Regions from separate parts of the Homo sapiens genome. Here all the other regions are linked to region 3. Evidence: promoter capture Hi-C in 16 types of primary human blood cells and fetal thymus (Javierre and others, 2016). All regions are on one chromosome and are shown on one strand. Each heading gives the region's core, a stretch centred on a gene start or on the middle of the fragment in contact. The rest is flanking DNA. Distances are from core to core; before and after follow the strand shown.

The links. The method cuts DNA at HindIII sites, captures the fragments that hold promoters and counts their contacts. A CHiCAGO score of 5 or more calls a contact.
Region 1: a contact is called between a fragment that was not itself captured here and the fragment with the promoter of CSHL1 in region 3, in 2 of 17 cell types (endothelial precursors and naive CD8 T cells). The highest score is 6.0, in endothelial precursors.
Region 2: a contact is called between a fragment that was not itself captured here and the fragment with the promoter of CSHL1 in region 3, in 2 of 17 cell types (M2 macrophages and naive CD8 T cells). The highest score is 5.4, in M2 macrophages.
Region 4: a fragment that was not itself captured here is called in contact with the fragment with the promoter of CSHL1 in region 3 in 1 of 17 cell types (activated CD4 T cells); the score reaches 5.2 in activated CD4 T cells.
Region 5: a contact is called between a fragment that was not itself captured here and the fragment with the promoter of CSHL1 in region 3, in 2 of 17 cell types (activated CD4 T cells and naive CD8 T cells). The highest score is 5.3, in activated CD4 T cells.

What each region holds. Positions count from the first base shown.
Region 1 is chr17:64,265,401-64,268,100 of GRCh38, reverse strand. No RefSeq gene overlaps it. Among named protein-coding and RNA genes, the nearest start is that of TEX2, 3.5 kb to the right of the region's middle. The HindIII fragment of the contact is 6,256 bases long and covers 1-2,700 here.
Region 2 is chr17:64,300,742-64,303,441 of GRCh38, reverse strand. No RefSeq gene overlaps it. Among named protein-coding and RNA genes, the nearest start is that of TEX2, 39 kb to the right of the region's middle. The HindIII fragment of the contact is 2,881 bases long and covers 1-2,700 here.
Region 3 is chr17:63,909,924-63,912,623 of GRCh38, reverse strand. It overlaps CSHL1 (chorionic somatomammotropin hormone like 1), which reads left to right and starts at 1,366. Exons shown (of 5, transcript NM_022579.3): 1 at 1,366-1,437; 2 at 1,700-1,879; 3 at 2,089-2,204; 4 at 2,298-2,462. The coding sequence starts at 1,428. LOC112268204 (a long non-coding RNA gene) reads right to left here and starts at 704. Exons shown (of 3, transcript XR_002958148.2): 1 at 365-704. The HindIII fragment of the contact is 23,854 bases long and covers 1-2,700 here.
Region 4 is chr17:64,178,542-64,181,241 of GRCh38, reverse strand. All of the region lies in intron 5 of TEX2 (testis expressed 2), which reads left to right. Among named protein-coding and RNA genes, the nearest start is that of SNORA50C, 34 kb to the right of the region's middle. The HindIII fragment of the contact is 979 bases long and covers 802-1,780 here.
Region 5 is chr17:64,197,664-64,200,363 of GRCh38, reverse strand. The region is part of intron 2 of TEX2 (testis expressed 2); the gene reads left to right. Among named protein-coding and RNA genes, the nearest start is that of SNORA50C, 53 kb to the right of the region's middle. The HindIII fragment of the contact is 1,717 bases long and covers 527-2,243 here.

The DNA of each region.
Region 1 (2,700 bases), core at 188-2,687, 360 kb before region 3:
CCACTGCACAGTCTCTTCATTCTTCTTCTTCTTCTTCTTCTTTTTTTTTTTGAGATGGAGTCTCACTCTGTTGCCCAGGCTGGAGTGCAGTGGTATGATCTCAGCTCACTGCAATCTCCATCTCCCGGGTTCAAGCGATTCTCCTGCTTCAGCCTCCCGAGTAGCTGGGATTACAGGCATGCACCACCACGTCTGGCTAATTTTTGTATTTTTAGTAGAGACAGGGTTTTACCATGTCGGCCAGGCTGGTCTCTAACTCCTGACCTCAAGTGATCCACCCACCTCGGCCTCCCAAAGTGTTGGGGTTACAGGCGTGAGCCACTGCACCTGGCCGATTCTTCTTTTTTCTTAGCTCTTCTCCTCAGCCCAGCTCTAGGGAGCCTCTACATTTCCAGCCACATCTATGCTGCATGTGTCAATGACCCTAATCTTCTAATTTCGAAATCCCAGAGCATACTTTCAGGCCTCTTCTAATTTGACCATTCTGTGGCATCTGTTGCTGTTGACTGCTCTCTCTTTCAATCTCTTCTCCCTTGGGTTTGGTGACTCTTACTTGGGTTTTTGTAAACTTTCTGGCTTCTCTTCATAATGAACTTCATCTGGCCACCCCTAAAAACATTATTGGGTTCCCCAAGGGTTCTAAGTGCCTATTCTGTGTCCCCACGGCTCCTGGGCTTCCCTCTAAGGAAGCCTATAATGGTCTATCAACGTGTCAGTTTCTCTACTAGATCTAGCATCTACAAGTGCCTTCATCTCTATCCCCAGTACTCAGCCCGCCACCTGGTACTGAGTGCACAGTGATTGCTCATTAATGGTGTGGCTTGTGGCATGATGATCCCTAATCTTTGTTAGATATACAAGTGGATCAACTTTTTGGTTTTCTGTACTTCTTAACCATTTCTGTCTCCAAGAATGCAATGTCAAAAACAGAATTAAAAATCTTAGGCTGGGCATACTGGCTCATGCCTAATCCCAGCACTTTGGGATACCGAGGCAGGAGGATCATTTGAGCCCAAGGGTTCATGACCAGCCTGGGACAACACAGCAAGACCTCATCTCTACAAAAAGTAGAAAGAAATTAGCCAGGCATGGTGGCGCATGCCTGTAGTCCCAGCTACTCAGGAGGCTGAGGTGGGAGGATCACTGGAACCCAGGAGGTCAAGGCTGCAGTGAGCCATGAGTGTGCCAGTGCACTCTAGCCTGGGTGACGGAGAAAGACCCTGTTTCAAAACAAAAAATAAAATCTTAGAGCATTTTTTGGTTTGTTTAGAAATTGGTGAGAAAATAGGGATTATCTTGAAATGCAATAATTGGGAATCTTTCAAGTATATCAGAACCTATGTGGGCTTAACCTGATAGTTGAAACCTGGGTTTCAAGAGAGCCTGGCATGAGGGTTGAGGGGTTGGGGGTAGAGAAAGAGGGGAGAGTATTAGCTTGGGCTTGCATTTCTGTGACTTAAGATCCTACTCTAGGTGAAAAAATTTAGATCACTTGGTACATGCTATACATATAGAGTAGCTATCTGGGGGACAAAGTAAGGAATCTTGCTTGATATCTGAATTTAGCCTCACAATCCCTAACCTTTTTCAGAGGTACTACAATGAGTCACAGATGCCAAGCTCTAAAATCACTCTTTTAAGCATGATTTGAGCCAGGCACAGTGGCTCACGCCTGTAATCTCAGCAGTTTGGGAGAGGTTGAGGCAAGAGGATCGCTTGCACCCAGGAGTTTGAGACCAGCCCTGGCAACATGGCAAGACCCCATCTCAAAAAAGCCTGGTGGTTACGGTCATGAATGCTGGCTCTTCCTTCAACTAGCCCTGCTATCCTGGACACATCACTAATCTGTGAACTTCAGTTTCTGCATCCATAAAAAGGAGAAAATAATGGTCATATCTACCCTAAAGAGTTACTGTAAGGTTTCAGTGAACTGCTATGTTCCAGGGACTTGGCATAGTACCTGGCACATAGTAACCTCTTAATAGGTAGGAAACAGGCCAGGCGCAGTGGCTCACACCTGTAATCCCAGGACTTTGGGAGGCCGAGGCTGAGGTGGGCAGATCACCTGAGCTCAAGAGTTCAAGACCAGCCTGGCCAACATGGTGAAACCTTGTATCTACTAAAAATAAAAATAAAAAAAATTAGCCAGGTGTGGTGGCGTGTGCCTGTAGTCCCAGCTACTCAGGGAGGCTGAGGCAGGAGAATTGCTTGAAACCAGGAGTTTGAGACCAGCCTGGACAACATGGTCTCAAACTCTTGGGCTCTCCTCCTGAGCGGGGGTTGCAGTGAGCCAAGGTCACGCCACTGCACTCCCGCCTGGGCAACATGACAGAGGCTGACTCCATCTCAAAAAAAAAAAAAAAAAAAAAGGTAGGAAACATTATTGTGTTATGATATGTTCATTTATTTTTCAATGCATCCAAATTCCTCAGATTTCAAAAAGAAGGGATCCTTCTAAGTGTTCATGCTGGATCTTACTGGCTTCTAGTTTGAGATCTGGTTGGTAGTGTATTAATTAATTTAATGCTTACGTGGAGCTTGGTAGGGAAAGGAGGTTGGTGGGCACTCTGAGAGGCACATTGCCAGCTTCCAAGGACCTTTGCAAGGGGCAGCTCCAGGGCCCCTACCCTTTCTCTCTCTCTCTCCCTGAGGCAGGGGGCTGAAGATGTGGCCAAGGAGAGCTTCAGGCTGTGTCTCCAT
Region 2 (2,700 bases), core at 132-2,631, 390 kb before region 3:
GACAGTTGCCATCTCTGGCTCTTCATAACTGGCAGTACCCAGTGAGAAAATAACAGAGCTTGGCCCGGCTTAGTGGCTCAGCACTTTGGGAGGCCGAGGCAGGTGGATCGCTTGAGGCCAGGAGTTCAAGACCAGCCTGGCCAACATGGTGAAACCCTGTCTCTACTAAAATTACAAAAATTAGTTGAGTATGGTGGTGCACGCCTGTAATTCCAGCAACTCAGAAGGCTGAGGCACAAGAATAGCTTGAACCCAGGAGGTGGAGATTGCAACAAGCTAAGATTGCACCACTGCACTCCAGCCTGGGTGACAGAGCAAGACTCTGTCTCAAAAAAAAAAGACAGAAAATAACAGAGCTTTAGGAATAAGATGAAGATGTAATCTCAGGCATTAGCATCACCCTGGAATCCTACAGGGGTAGATCCTGCCTTAGTGCAAATGGTTTAGGGGGCCCTTTGATCTTCTCTCTGCCATTCCTATTCCAGCCAATCAGCTTCTTTTATTTTCTCTCTGTTAACCATTAACTCAACATTGCTCTGCCTGACCCCCAGCTCCACCTATTACTTCTGAGCTGATAACCAAGTCAGAGAATAAAATATTATCTTATATTTATATCATGCTTTACAATTGACTGAGCTCTTTCTGATAATGTTCTCAATAAGCCTCATTCTATCATGTGAAGAAGGTATGATCCCATTTTAGAGCAGGGAAAATAAAGTTCAGAGAGGTCAAGCAACTTGCCCATGATCACACAGCTGGTTGACAGAGGTTTTACAACTAGCCCACTTCCCCTGCTATCCAACAACTTAGAGCAGAGGTTTACAAATGTTAGCTGCATATTAGAATCACCTGGAGATCTTTAAAAAGCTGATGCCTGGGTCCCATCCTCAAACATTCTCATTTAATTGGTCTGGGGTGAATTTGGACACTGGGAGGTTTTTAAAGCTGCCCAGGTGATTCTAATGTTTAGCCAGGGCCAAGAATCACTACTAAGCATGGCCTCTCTAAGACTGTCCAGACCTTTCATGGGAAACTCTTTAATACCAAAGCTCTTCAGGAATCAAAGGAATGTTGAATGGTGAGTTTCCGTGTGTGTGTGTGTGTGTGTGTGTGTGTGTGTGTGTGGTGTGTGGTGTGTGTGTGTGTTTCCTTTCTTTTTTTTTTTTTAGATGGAGTTTCACTATTGTTGCCCAGGCTGGAGTGCAACGGCATGGTCTCAGCTCACTGCAGTCTCCACCTCTCGGGTTCAAGCTGTTCTCCTGCCTCAGCCTCCTGAGTAGCTGGATTTACAGGCGCCCACCACCACGCCCGGCTAATTTTTTTTTTTTTTTTTTTTTTTTTTTTTGAGACGGAGTCTCGCTCTGTTGCCCAGGCTGGAGTGCAGTGGCGGGATCTCGGCTCACTGCAAGCTCCGCCTCCCGGGTTCACGCCATTCTCCTGCCTCAGCCTCCCAAGTAGCTGGGACTACAGGCGCCCGCCACTACGCCCGGCTAATTTTTTGTATTTTTAGTAGTGACGGGGGTTTCGCCATGTTGGCCAGGCTGGTCTCGAACTCTTGACCTCAGGTGATCCACCCGCCTCGGCCTCCCAAAGTCGTGGGATTACAGGCATGAGCCTCTGTGCCCAGCCTCAGTCTTTTTTCTATTTATTTATCCACCCTGGCTATGTGTGTTACATGAGGACAGGGGCTCTGTGTGGCATGCCTTTTTATCCACAGTATCTGGCATGTGGTAGGTCCTCAGTGAATATTGATTGAATAAATTATTTCCTTTTACATAAACAGGATTGTTTTGTACAGGGATATTTTTCCTCTGCCTGCTATTCTCATTTAACAGCAGATATTTATTTATTGTCTATACAGGTCTGTCTTATCGTTTTGGGTGTTTCGCCTCATTATTTTTAACTGCCTGGTATCCCACAGTATGGAAGGACCCTCATTTATTTAACCAGTTGCCTGTTAATAGGTTTTTGTTTGTTTGTTTGTTTTCTAACAGTAGGGAAAGTCCTTGCAAATAGCATTATGCACATGTCTAAGTATTCTCTAGGATCGATTTCCAGAACGGTAGCTGTGGGTCAGAAGATGAGCATATTGAACATTTGAATGAACATTGTCCTCCTTTGGACTTGGTCATGGCAGTCTTCCCTCCTGGAAACTTCTCTTTCCCAGCTACACTGTAGATCCTGGAGCACAGGGGAGGTAATAATGGCCTTTTCCATTCCTTTTTTTTTTTTTTTTTTTTAGACGGAGTCTTGCTCTGTCACCCAGGCTGGAGCGCAGTGGCACGATCTCAGCTCACTGCAAGCTCTGCCTCCCGGGTTCACGCCATTCTCCTGCCTCAGCCTCCCGAGTAGCTGGGACTACAGGCGCCCGCCACCACGCCCGGCTAATTTTTTGTATTTTTAGTCGAGACGGGATTTCACCATGTTAGCCAGGATGGTCTCGATCTCCTGACCTCGTGATCCGCCCGCTTCAGCCTCCCAAAGTGCTGGGATTACAGGCGTGAGCCACTGCGCCCGGCGGCCTTTTCCATTCTAAGGCAGGAATGAACTGTCCAGGCAAACTTCAAGAAACTCTGCCAGGGTGCCCTTGCTTGCCAGAGATGGATGGAGGAGGAAAGGGTGAAAACATGAAATATGACAGCTAAGAACATTGAGCTTCGGGCAACATTCTGTGCGGTGGGCGGCCAGTCCCCTGCCCAC
Region 3 (2,700 bases), core at 117-2,616:
GCTCACAGCAACCTCTGCCTCCTGGATTCAAGTGATTCTACCACCTCACCCTCCGGAGTAACTGGGATTACAGGCTTGCGCCACCACACACAGCTACTTTTGTATTTCTAGAGAGTTGGTGTTTTGCCATGTTGGCTAGTCTGGCCTTGAACTCCTGACCTCAAGTGATCCACCCACCTCAGCCTCCCAAAGTGCTGGGATTACAGGCATGAGCCACCGTGCCCGGCCTGGAGAAAGGACTTTAAATGACACAAAGTGGGAAGAGCAAGGCTGTGGAGATCTGCTGCCCTGGCTGAGGTAGCTCATGCAATCAGTCTCTCTGAGCCTCAGTCTCCTGATATGTGAAATGGGATGATAATCATACCTCCTACACAAGACAAGTGGCAGGTCAGACGTGAGAATGCACAGGCAGGCCCTTCGCAACTGGATAGGCTCTATACAGGTGTGGAAAGGAGGAGGAGAAAAAAGAGGACGGGCTTCCATGGATGGATAGGGCATCTTTCGGCGTGATGTGTTTTGAGTTCCAAAGCTGGGGAAGAGATTCAAATCTTCAAGAGCTCTTCCAACTTTGAGATTCTCTGATGGTTTCAGGGCTATGGGAGGAAGCGCTTGTGGTCCGTGTCTGTTCCCGGGATTTCGGTTTCTTGGTTTGTGTCTCTGCTGCAGGTCCAGGGAGCTGGGGCAATACCTTGAGAGTCTGAGTTCTTCGTCCCCAGTGACCTGGGGGAGCCCCCCACCCAACCCCCTCCCTCCGCCCCGCCCCAAGGCTCAGGGAAAGGGGAGATCAAAGTGTGGGGTTGGTTCCCTCTAGTGGTCAGTGTTAGCACTGCATCCAGCTGACTCAGGTGGGCCCAGGAGTCGTCAGCAGAAGTGGAATTCAGGACTGAATCATGCTCACAACCCCCACAATCTATTGGCTGTGCTTGGCCCCTTTTCCCAACACACACATTCTGTCTGGTGGGTGGAGGTTAAACATGCGGGGAGGAGGAAAGGAATAGGATAGAGAGTGGGATGTGGTCGATAGGGGTCTCAAGGACTGGCTATCCTGACATCCTTCTCCGCATTCAGGTTGGCCACCATGGCCTGCTGCCAGAGGGCACCCACCTGAACCTTAAAGAGAGGACAAGTTGGGTGGTGTCTGTGGTTGACACTCTGTGCACAACCCTCACAACGCTGGTGACGGTGGGAAGGGAAAGATGACAAGCCAGGGGACATGATGCCAGCATGTGTGGGAGGAGCTTCCAAATTATCCATTAGCACAAGCCCGTCAGTGGCCCCATGCATAAATGTGCACAGAAACAGGTGGGGGCAACAGCGAGAGAGAAGGGGCCAGGGTATAAAAAGGGCCCACAAGAGACCAGCTCCAGCATCCCAAGGCCCGACTCCCCGCACCACTCAGGGTCCTGTGGACAGCTCACCTAGCGGCAATGGCTGCAGGTAAGCGCCCCTAAAATCCCTTTGGGCACAACGTGTCCTGAGGGGAGAGGCGGCGCCCTGCAGATGGGACGGGGGCACTAACCTCAGGTTTGGGGCTTCTGAATGTGAATATCGCCATCTAAGGCCAGATATTTGGCCAATCTCTGAATGTTCCTGGTCCCTGGAGGGATGGAGAGAGAGAAAAAGAAAACAGCTCCTGGAACAGGGAGAGTGCTGGCCTCTTGCTCTGCGGCTCCCTTCTTGCCCTCCGGTTTCTCCCCAGGCTCCCGGACGTCCCTGCTCCTGGCTTTTGCCCTGCTCTGCCTGCCCTGGCTTCAAGAGGCTGGTGCCGTCCAAACCGTTCCCTTATCCAGGCTTTTTAAAGAGGCTATGCTCCAAGCCCATCGCGCACACCAGCTGGCCATTGACACCTACCAGGAGTTTATAAGCTCTTGGGGAATGGGTGCGGGTCAGGGGTGGCAAGAAGGGGTGACTTTCCCCCACTGGGGAAGTAATGGGAGGAGACTAAGGAGCTCAGGGTTGTTTTCTGAAGCGAAAATGCAGGCAGATGAGCATAGGCTGAGCCAGGTTCCCAGAAGAGTAACAGTGGGAGCTGGTCTCCAGCATAGAAAGCAGTGGTCCTTCTTGGTGGGGGGTCCTTCCCCTAGGAAGAAGCCTATATCACAAAGGAACAGAAGTATTCATTCCTGCATGACTCCCAGACCTCCTTCTGCTTCTCAGACTCTATTCCGACATCCTCCAACATGGAGGAAACGCAGCAGAAATCCGTGAGTGGATGCTGTCTCCCCTAGGCGGGGATGGGGGAGACCTGTGGTCAGAGCCCCCGGGCAGCACAGCCACTGCCGGTCCTTCCCCTGCAGAACTTAGAGCTGCTCCACATCTCCCTGCTGCTCATCGAGTCGCGGCTGGAGCCCGTGCGGTTCCTCAGGAGTACCTTCACCAACAACCTGGTGTATGACACCTCGGACAGCGATGACTATCACCTCCTAAAGGACCTAGAGGAAGGCATCCAAATGCTGATGGGGGTGAGGGTGGCACCAGGGGTCCCCAATCCTGGAAGCCCACTGGCTTCGAGGGCTGGGGGAGAGAAACACTGCTGCCCTCTTTTCAGCAGTCAGGCGCTGACCCAAGAGAACTCACCTTATTCTTCATTTCCCCTCGTGAATCCTCCAGGCCTTTCTCTACACCCTGAAGGGGAAGGAGGAAAATGGATAAATGAGAGAGGGAGGGAACAGTGCCCAAGCGCTTGGTCTCTCCTTCTCT
Region 4 (2,700 bases), core at 42-2,541, 270 kb before region 3:
CCTCCCAAAGTGCTGGGATTACAGGCATGAACCACCACGCCCGGCCTAATTTTGCTTTTTAAAAGTTCTGTATTCTTAAATGTATATATACACTGAAAAGAGACTGAAAGAAAATATAGTAAAACTGTTTTAAATAATGTTTAAAATGTTTTAAATCTGAGTAGCAGGTTTATGGGTGTTTTCTGCAGTGAATATGCATTGTTTTTATAATCAAGGGAAAGAAACACACAGGAGTAGGGTCCTCCGCTGTGTCATCTCCTGGACCACACTGTCCCTTGTGCAACCCCCCTGGCGGTACACTGGGTGCGGCCAAAAAGGAGTGGGGGCACTACACACTCTTTGTAATAGAAAAACTGGGCTGGCCTCCTGGCCATTTGTAATAGGAAATGTTACACCACAGACTTCAGTAAATCTGTCCTACTTTAGTTTTAGAGGTTAGTTTTAAATAACACATATCCCAAGAGTGACGCAGTTTTGATGGGCTTGCTTCAGCTTCAAACCATTGAATTTTCTCTACACTTATTTGGAAGCCATTTTTGGAAAGTTACCATTTCTTAGTGTGTTTATACAGTTGAGACAGCGAAATGAATATCCTCCACACATTTCATCCTATAGCCAAATGGCAATATTAGGAAATGTATGCACATTGTTTCTTTAAACTCTTAAATTTTTATGACATTCGTTGGGCCTTCCTAGCAGGCTGTTGAATCCAGGTTTTGCTCATAAAAGCTTCTTTGATGCATTATCGATGTTCTGCTCTGGAATTTTTCTTTGTTCCCAATGAGTCTGTGGAGAGAAGCTTATTTTGGAAAAAGGAACTGTTGAAAAAACAACCTGCTTGTCGGTTATTTCAGAAATTTGTTTACCACATCATATGCCATTGGCTTGGACATACATTGTGAAATAGCCTTTGTTTCTTGCTATTTTGTGCTAAAACTGTTTCCTGTGAGTAACTAGGGTTGTAAAGAAAGGCTAATAAAGGGTAGATGCTCCCTCTAGGGAAGGGAAAAAGTAACTTATTCTCTTGTATAACCTACAAATCTAAAATAAGACACGTGGTGTCTTACGTGGGCAGCAACTTAGTACTGTCTGAGGGGCCAGGTGGTCATTGCCCTTGGATGAGTGTTTATGCAGAAGTCTGTATAAATAATCGGATGGGACTCAAAGACAGTAACCTCAGAAAAGCTGAATGAATTACCCTTGGGGCTGGGAAGGAGATGTTCAGTCAGAGAAAAAAGGGATTCAAAAAAACAGTGCAAGTTATGGCATGGCCAAGCATTCACCGCTGCAGACTCTTGCCCTTCCATCCAGGACCTAGTGGTGGAAAATGTCTTGGTTAATGACAGAAAACGTCACAGCACTCGAAAAGCCCAGAGAGAATAATCCATGTCCATTAAGAAGGGTGAAGCAGATCCATGTCTTCTGAAATGGGCTGACCAGCATGCTTTCTTTTTTAAACCATTTTTTTTTTTAAATGAGACTCACCAACGTTCATAAAGGAGACCTTTGAAAACTCAAATGTGAAGGACTCCTGTAAAATATAAAGTCATGCAGTGACATGTGATTGAAAAACGTAAGCGAACCCTAGGCCCCCAGCAAGAGAGGGCACAGGCTGTGGCAATGTATGTGGAGTTGGTTCCTGCTGGTGGGTTCGTGGTCTCACTGACTTCAAGAATGAAGTCTCGGACCTTCATGGTGAGTGTTACAGCTCTTAAAGGTGGCACGGACCCAAAGAGTGAGTAGTAGGAAGGTTTATTGTGAAGAGCAAAAGTACAAAGCTTCCACACTGTGTAAGGGCACCCAAGCAGGTTGCCGCTGCTGCTGGCTAGGGTGGCCAGCTTTTATTCCCTTATTGTCCCTTCCCATGTTCTGTTTTTGTCCTATCACAATGCCCTTTTTTCAATCCTCTCTGCGATTGGCTACTTTTAGGATCCTGCTGATTGGTGCATTTTACAGAGTGCTGATTGGTACATTTTACAGAGCGCTGATTGGTGCGTTTTATAGGGCACTGATTGGTGCATTTTACAATCCTTTTGCTAGCTACAGAGTGCTGATTGGTACATTTTTACAGAGTGCTGATTGGTGCATTTTACAATCCTCTTGTAAGAAAATTTCTCCAAGTCCCCACTCCACCCAGGAAGTCTAGCTGGCCTCACCTCTCAGCAAGACTGGCAGACGGGTGGGACTGAGCAGTGTGCTGGCTCAGGCACAGCTCAGTGACTGGTGAACACCAAGCTTCAGAATGAGTGCACGGAGCTATGTGCTGTAGACCTTGGGAGTACTCACAAACAATTGGATCTGCAGATTCAAATCCATACACACCAAGCAACAACGTGTGCACCACAGCACTGACCCAGGCACACAGCTTCAATGTGGGCACAGTCACAGCTGCTCAGAATGGATAGCACTGGCACGAATGCACAAGCACAAAGCGTGGAGGTGATGAGAGTGTCTGGTGTGTGTTATAGCTGCAGCCAGCCCATGAGGGCAGAACAGATGCACTTATAGTAGCCATAGAGGGAGGGGAAAGGGGGAATAATTCACAGATTCTGCATTTCTAAATCTTTTCATCTTTGCTTTCCAAAGCTCATTGTTTCTGCAAGGCTACAGTCTAATTAGAGACCTCAGCACAGGAAAATGTCTGCCATATCAGGGGGCCAGCTCCCCTTCCCCCACCCCCACCGCCACACACAGGACAGA
Region 5 (2,700 bases), core at 136-2,635, 290 kb before region 3:
ACAGGAATTTTCCTAGGAATAATAATTGAGTAGCAGTTGGTTAGACTGGGGCAGAGTAACAGCTCAGCACCTGAAACTGACCTGTGAACAGATGAGCTGGTGTATGTATCTCAACACACATGCCTGTATGTCTTGTTTTGTTTTCTAAGTCTAAAAATCAAAAGAATAAGCTAAAAAAATGATATGTTTGTCTATTAATTATCTTAATTTTCCTATAGAACTATGAGTTTTTCAAAAGCCTCCTACATAGAATACTCTTATTAATATTTCTGAGTTTTTAATATTGCAGGTTAACTTTTAAAAGGGATTTTGAATTTCTACAATAGATTTCATTAGGTGATTACTTAGATTATCTTCTCTCATTTAATTATGCAAAGCATCTAATAAAATGGCAGAAAACTGCCATGTACTGAATGACTGTCTCTTATCACTAAGACTGAGTGTGTTGAAAGCATGCACAAGAAGAGAAAGGAAGGCTTTGCCCATTCTATTCATAGTTGAGCCAAGGGTCTAGGGCTAAAAAGCTTGAACCCAATAACTGGCCCTGAACTGTCTCTTATATACTAGTCCTGAGCCCTATGTGGCTGTTGAGCCCTTGAAGTGTAGCTAGTTGGAATCAAGATGTGTTCTAAGCGTAAAGTACGCACTGGATTCTGAAGACTTGGTATGAAACAGAATGTAAAATACCAGTAATAATTTTTAATATTGATTACATGTTGAAATCATAATTTTGATATGAATTTAAATAAAATACATTGTTTAAATTAATTTTACCTGCTTTTTCTTTCTTAATGTGGCTCTTAGACCATTTAAAATTACACATTTTCAGCAAGGCGCAGTGGCTCACGCCTGTAATCCCAGCACTTTGGGAGGCCAAGGTGGGTGGATCACTTGAGGTCAGGAGTTTGAGACCAGCCTGGCCAACATGGTGAAACTCCATCTCTACTAAAAATACGAAAATTAGCCGGGCGTGGTGGCACACACCTGTAATCCCAGCTATTCAGGAGACTGAGGCAGGAGAATTGCTTGAACCCAGGAGGTGCAGGTTGCAGTGAGCCAAGGTAACGCCACTGCACTCCAGCCTGGGCAACAGAGCGAGACTCCATCTCAAAAAAATAAAGTAAAAATAAAATTACATATTTTCATGATCACATTTATGGCTCACATTATATTAATATTTCCATTGTACAGCACCTCCCTGGACAAGTCTGCATTTTCTGATTTAGGAAAGACGAAATGAAAGCAATTGGAGAGAAACAACTTTTATCCCTAAGTTTCTCTTATTCATAAATCAGATAATTAACCTGTACAATCCCAGCAGTTTCAAATGGGAAAAATCCCCACAGCTTACTTTACTCTATTTCTCAGAGACTGTCCTTTTCTTGGAGAACAGTTTCATGTAATATAATACTTGTCTTTTTTTTCTCCTTTAGCCCTTCTAGTCTGGTGGTGAGTGGTTGATAAACATAATGCAGGGATTTTTGTCTGAAATTCCAGTATCATGTTAATCCTTTTTTTCTCATTTGGTGCCAGTATCATGTTAATTCTACTGGCTTTTGTACATGTATCTGTAATTCTATGTACCTGGAAATAACGAAAAATATTTTATATGGTGATTTGTCGCAGTAATGTCTATCTTATATCAAATTGTGATTATCATAATTCAAAAACAGCCATTAAATAAATGCTGAGCATCTCAGCTTAGGTATTAGGATGGACGAAGGCAGTATCACACATAATCCATATTCTCAAGTAGCCTCTACTCTAGCCAGCAGATGTGTGCTCAGAGTGAAATGATTCAAGAAGAGCAATTGCATGCAGGGACTGTATGGCCAAATGGCTCATAAATGACACTGATAACAAGTGGCTGTTTTGATCTAATAGAGTTCTCATCAGCTCCAACTTCCCCCCGCCCTTCATGGATTCTTCTTGGTTTTAGTAGCTCTGCAAGCATAAACAACCTCTGAAGTATCTTAGAAAAACGATTATATCTGCTTCAAGTTCTTTATTAATCTAGTTGCCTTTAGAACTTTAGCCCTGGTAAACCTGTTATATATGTAAGACAGTATTTTCTGCAACCAAATTGAATAAGAAGAAAGCTGTGTGTTCTGTGTCAGGAGATCTTTGGTGAAAATGGTTGTGCTTAAAAAGACAAATAAATATATTTATAGAAAACCCTACTCAACAGCAGAATGCATTTTTTTTAACTGCACTTGGAACCAAGATAGACCATATAACAAGCTTAAAAGAATTGAAATTATACAAAGCCTGTTTCCTATTATGAAATTACACTAAAAACCAGTAAGAGAGATATCTGAAAATTTCTCAAATATTTGGAAATTAAGCAAAATACTTCTAAACAGCCTGTGGGCCTAAAGATAAAGTCATAAGGGAAAATAGAAAATATTTTTAACTGAAGGAAACTGAAAATACAACCTATCAGAAATTGCAGGTAATACAGTGCCTAGAGGGAAATTAATAGTATTAAAAGCTTGTTAGAGGATGGGTGTGGTAGTTCATGCATGTAATCCCAGCACTTTGGGAGGCCAAGGTGGGAGAACTGCTTGAGACCAAGAGTTCAAGACCAGCTTGGGCAACATAGCAAGACTCCATTTCTACAAAGATCTTTTTAAAAAAATTAGCTTGGTGTAGTGACACGTATCTGTAGCCCTTGCTACTTGGGAGGCTGAGGTGGGAGGA